2 separate regions of the Homo sapiens genome follow, and region 1 is linked to region 2. The links are contacts of gene promoters, found by promoter capture Hi-C in human tissues and cell types (Jung and others, 2019). All regions are on one chromosome and are shown on one strand. Each heading gives the region's core, a stretch centred on a gene start or on the middle of the fragment in contact. The rest is flanking DNA. Distances are from core to core; before and after follow the strand shown. Region 1 holds the start of SLC9A1 (solute carrier family 9 member A1). Region 2 holds the start of SYTL1 (synaptotagmin like 1).

Region 1 (2,859 bases), core at 246-2,745, 190 kb after region 2:
TTTTAGTAGAGACCGGGTTTCACCGTGGTCTCGATCTCCTGACCTCGTGATCCGCCCGCCTCGGCCTCCCAAAGTGCTGGGATTACAGGCGTCAGCCACTACGCCCGGCCTAGACAATGGTATTTTAAAAAAGCTTTCCAGTGATTCCATTGTACAGCCATGATCCCTTGAACCTCACCAATTTCAACCAAACTATAGGTTCAAATTTAAGTTCCACTACTTAAAGCATGCCACTGTTGTGGGTTGAATTGTGTCCCGGCAAAAGAAGTTGAAGTCCTAATGCCCAGTGCCTATGAAGATGGACTAATTAGGATGCAGTCTTTGAAGATGTTCAGGTTAAGATGAGGTAATTACGTTGGATTTCTAATCCAATGACTGGTGTCCTTATAAAAAGGGGAAATCTGGCTGGGGGTTGTGGCTTACCCCTGTAATCCCAGCACTTTGGGAGGCCGAGGCGGGTGGATCACCTGAGGTCAGGAGTTCGAGACCAGCCTGACCAACATGGTGAAACCCCATCTCTACTAAAAATACAAAAATTAGCTGGACGTGGTGGTGGGTGCCAGTAATCCCAGCTACTCTGGAGGCTGAGGCAGGAGAATCGCTTGAATCCAGGAGGCAGAGGTTGCATTGAGCTGAGATGGCGCCACCGCACTCCAGCCTGGGCAACAAGAGCCAGACTCTATCTCAAAAAAAATAAAAATAAAAATAAAGTGTGGGCGGGGAATCTGGACGCAGAGACAGAGACACCAGGAGAACTCCATGGAATACCAGATAGTCCTAACAAACCACTGGAAGGTAGGAGAAAGGCATGGGACAGATTCTCCCTCATAGCTCTCAGCTGAAACCAACCCTGCCAACACCTAGATCCGACCTCCAGCCTCCAGAACTGTGAGACAATCAATTTCTGTTGTTGCAGCCACCCAGTTTGGGGTGATACTTTGTTACGGCAGCCCTAGTAAGCAATACAACTACTTGCATAGTAGCCAGGGGACTCTCTTCACCTGTTTCCTCATCTGTAAAAGTGGAATTGTAATAATGTGCCAGGGTGCATTCCAAATAGTTTACACGGATTGTCTCAGTCATTACATCATCCCTCTGACATAGTCACTATTACTGTCTCTACTTAACAGATGAGAAAGTTGTGAAACAGGTTAAGTAACTTGCTCAAGGTCACACGGTAACTAAATACATAAACTAATAATACATTCTTCACAGGATTATTCGAAAGCCCTTATGAGACTGCAGATGTGGACGTGAAATCGTTTTGTAAGTAGTCGGCATTTTACTCGCGTTAGTGAGGTTCTCTGTATATTCAGGACTTTTTTTTTTTTTTTTTTTTGTCATCTCTGACTCTCCTTCCTCTTCCTACGCGATACTTCTTTCCCTCGGCGACAGGGGCCGCTGCGCTGGGCGGGTGCCGACGGTCTCTCTAGCCCGCCGCACCGGCTGCTCGCTGGTGCCTATAAGTGACAGCGCCGGGCTCAGCTAGGCTTCAGTCTGCTGCCGCCGGGGCCGGGGCTAGGGTTAGTTCTGGAGCTGGACCAGGAGGAGCTGCAGCTGGGCCGGGGCGGAGCGCCGCGTCGCGCCAGGGCCGCGAGGAGGGGCGTGTTGCTGCTGGCCCACCGCGAGCCGCCCCCAGCCCGCGCCGAGGCGCCTTCCCGCCAGGCCGCCTGCCTTCCGCCTCTTTCCATTTCCCCGGAATCTCAGCCCGGCGCGCCTGGACCCCTGCCCCTCTCTGGGTGGAGAAGCTCCCGGCCGCTTCCCGGTTTCACTCCTTCTCAGCCTGGGCTCCCAGCCCCCTCTCTCCTTTTCCTGGACTGGCTCTCACCCCCTTCGGTCCCCTTCCTTTAGCTCAGGCTCCCTACCCCTTCCTTTAGCCCACAGCCCAGAGTCCCAGCTCCTCAGTCACTTTCCTCAGCCAAAGGTCCCAGCCTTCCTTCTTCCTTTCCTTTGCACTATCCCTATCCTGCCCCTTCCTCTATCCCTAGGGCTCAGTTTCCCACATCCGTCCTCCCCCTTCCCAGGCCCGGAGTTCCAGACCTTTTGGTCTCCTTTCGTGGTCGTTCCTGGGTCCTTGCCCCCTTTCCCCACTTTGGAGTTCCAGATTGCAAACCCAGCCTCCCTCCACCCCCAGAAAATTGCTTCCATGGAAATGCCTCTCTAAAACATGAACTTTTCCTAGAGACTACGCCAGTCTCTCTTCCCACTTGCTGACCCTTTGCTACCTATGTGCCCGGTTTTACTCTCATTTGGGTAAGGTCGAGGCTGGCTCTGGAAGCAGCACCATGGTTCTGCGGTCTGGCATCTGTGGCCTCTCTCCACATCGGATCTTCCCTTCCTTACTCGTGGTGGTTGCTTTGGTGGGGCTGCTGCCTGTTCTCAGGAGCCATGGCCTCCAGCTCAGCCCAACTGCCAGCACCATTCGAAGCTCAGAGCCACCACGAGAACGCTCGATTGGGGATGTCACCACCGCTCCACCGGAGGTCACCCCAGAGAGCCGCCCTGTTAATCATTCCGTCACTGATCATGGCATGAAGCCGCGCAAGGCCTTTCCAGTCCTGGGCATCGACTACACACACGTGCGCACCCCCTTCGAGATCTCCCTCTGGATCCTTCTGGCCTGCCTCATGAAGATAGGTAAGTCCCGTTTGCTCCGATGCTGCGGCCGCCACCAGACTGGTGAGCTTCTTGCCTCATCTCGCACCATTTGAGGCTGTCCAGGAGTAAGGATCTGAACTACCCCCATAAAGTAGGCAGTCTCCATCCTGCCACCTTGGTCCTTCTCAGGCTCCAGTTCTGTGGCTTCTGATCTGTGATCTGAGGCTTCCCAAGATTGGAGCCAGCACTGTGCACAGAAGA
Region 2 (2,700 bases), core at 1-2,500:
ACAGTGACTCCGGAAAGAAAGCATTTGCCCAGCGCTGAGGGGCATGTAGACGTGGCAAGGGGCCCATGACTTGGTCAGGGCTGTGTCCTGAGCCCACTGGGCGGCCTCTCCTCTCTTCCCCGCCCCTTCCATTGCCACGGCTCCAGGTGGGGCTGAGACCGGCGGAGGCAGCTTGGCGGGCAGGTCCTGGCTTGTGTCCGCCGCCTGCTATGCTCTGTCCCCTCCCAGCTGAGTCAGTGGCCGAGCCCCAGCGATCCCTCTTGACACCCTCAGGAGCAGAAGGCCTCAGCACGGCTGCACGGTGTGCATTCACTCTGTGGATACCTGTGTGCTCCACAACAGCAGTTTCCCTGGACTTCTGTGGCCAACGTGTGAGCCCACGTTCGGCCTCCCCTGTGGATTGGGGTGTGAGCCCACGTTCGGCCTCCCCTGTGGATTGGGGTGTGAGCCCACGTCCCTCTCTGTGCCCTGTTGTGTGGCTGTGTGGGTCCGAGTCTGGTGGGCATGTCTGCGTTGCGTGAGTCTGTGAGCTGTGTAGTTGCTGTGTGTCTTTGTGTCCTGTTGCAGTGTGATGCTGCATGGTGACTATATTGTCTGTGTGGTGTGTTCAGTGACTTTCTAGGTGACAGCGCCGTGTGGGGTGTGTACAGTATGCATTGTGCATTTCCTCCTGTGCTGTATGTGTGACTGGGCTGTGTGCTGTGGGGTGTCCCCTGGTGCCTTGGGGGCCACCAGGTGTGTGTGTCTGAGTGTGGATGGAGGCCGGGGGGACGTTCGGCAGAACTGAGCCTATTTCTGTCCTTCAGGCCTGCCTGAGCTGGGCCATGGGCATCAGCCCAGCGTCCTCAGCAGTGCCCCCTCCCTGAAGTCCCCTCTCCTACCAACCAGAGGCAGAATCTCCTACCAGAGTTAGGTAGGAGTTTGGTCTTCTCTGCTGTTTTGACACGGTGGGACAGACCCATTGGTCAAGAGGAGGGTCTGTCCATCTGTCCAGCTGTTCCAGTTCCAGACATGTGCCCACCTCCCCCAACCCCAAGGTGCTGGAGGGTGCTCAGGATACCAGGTGGCAGTGCCTGCGTCTCTGGACCCTGGCAGGGGACCCTGGCACCGACACGTGTTACCTGTAGGGGTCCAGTATGGGAGGACACCTTCGCAGGTGGCTCCAGCTCCCCTGGCAGCCGAGTTTCAGGGACCGGGAGAAGAGCCGTGAGGGAAGAAGGCTGACTCAACAGGCAGCCCAGCCAGCAGCTGCCCCACACGGAGGAGGAGGAAACACCTCGGCAGGGCCTGATGCAAAACCGGGCCTGGACTCCCAGCGCCCGGGGGTGCGCCCCCGCAGCCGACTGGAGAGGCCCAGCTTGGCCCCAGCTCCACTGAGCAGGCCCTCTAGAACGGGTAGCAGCCCCACCTTGCCCACAACGGGGCTGATAGGAACTCGCTTTGAAAGCAAGTTAGAAACCTTTCTTTTCCAGCCCCAAGGGGAATGGCAGGATGGCAGACTTTGCAGTTAGACCACCCTGTGCAGAGTCCCTGCTCTGCCAGTGGGTGTGTGATGTGACCTTAAGCAGGTCTCTTCCATTTCTTCTGATGCAAACTGTGGGTAGCAGAGTGCAAGGAGCCTATACTAAGGGAAGTGAAAGTGCCCGGTGCGAGCTGGCATAGTCGGGGTGAGGTGTCCCCACTCCAGCATAGCCTAATGCCCACGGCCATCTCAGCAGCTGCTGCCCTCTATATCCACATGCACTTCTGGGACATGCTGGCAGAGCAGCCCTCTCTGTCCCCTCTGCTGTCCTGAGCCCCATCTGTTTGAGGAGGCCTGAACTCTTCTAGTGCCAAGGTGAGGGTCCCACACCCTCTGTCTATGTGGAGCCCCCCTGAACTCACCCCATTCTACACCTAGATTCTGCCCACCCTGAGATTAGAAGGTTTGGGCCCTAGATTACATTGGCTTCAGGACCATGAACCTCCTGGGTTGTCTTGGGCACAAGAGGCCACACCAAAGCTTTCTGACTCCCCCCAAGTCCACTTCACTTCCCATGGCCTGCCCTGGCCCAACCCCCTCCCCTGAACCTAGGGCCATGGATTAAAGATTAGTGGGCTCCTCATAGACCCCTGGGAGAGGCAGGACAAGGGGTGGATTCTAAACAAAACCAGTCTGGGCACAGTGACTCATGCCTGTAATCCCAGTACTTTAAGAGGTCGAGGTGGGCGGATCACTCTAGGACAGGAGTTTGAGACCAGTCTGGCTAATATAGTGAAACCCCGTCTCTACTCAAAATACAAAAATTAACCGGGCATGGTGGCAGGTGCTTGCAGTCCCAGTTACTCGGGAGGCCGAGGCAGGAGAATCGCTTGAACCCAGGAGGCGGAGGTTGCAGTGAGCCGAGATCGCACCACTGCACTCCAGCCTGGGCAACACAGCGAGACTCCGTCTCAGAAAAGCAAACAAGGCTGGGCGTGGTAGCTTACACCTGTAATCCCAGCACTTTGGGAGGCCGAGACGGGTGGATCACGAGGTCAGGAGATCAAGACCATCCTGGCTAACACGGTGAAAACCCATCTCTACTAAAAATACAAAAAAAATTAGCTGGGCGTGGTGGCGGCTGCCTGTAGTCCCAGCTATTTCCCGAGTAGCTGAGGCAGGAGAATGGCATGAACCTGGGAGGTGGAGCTTGCAGTGAGCCGAGATCGCACCACTGC

What was found. The method cuts DNA at HindIII sites, captures the fragments that hold promoters and counts their contacts. A contact is called where the count stands out against the background at its distance.
Region 1: a contact is called between the fragment with the promoter of SLC9A1 here and the fragment with the promoter of SYTL1 in region 2, in 1 of the 25 tissues and cell types used here (pancreas).

The regions. Positions count from the first base shown.
Region 1 is chr1:27,153,761-27,156,619 of GRCh38, reverse strand. It overlaps SLC9A1 (solute carrier family 9 member A1), which reads left to right and starts at 1,495. Exons shown (of 12, transcript NM_003047.5): 1 at 1,495-2,637. The coding sequence starts at 2,286. RefSeq lists an enhancer at 101-600 and a silencer at 1,546-1,775. The HindIII fragment of the contact is 28,159 bases long and covers 1-2,859 here.
Region 2 is chr1:27,340,572-27,343,271 of GRCh38, reverse strand. It overlaps SYTL1 (synaptotagmin like 1), which reads right to left and starts at 1,250. Exons shown (of 15, transcript NM_001193308.2): 1 at 1,122-1,250. RefSeq lists enhancers at 1-615, 790-839, 1,370-1,629. The HindIII fragment of the contact is 14,194 bases long and covers 1-2,700 here.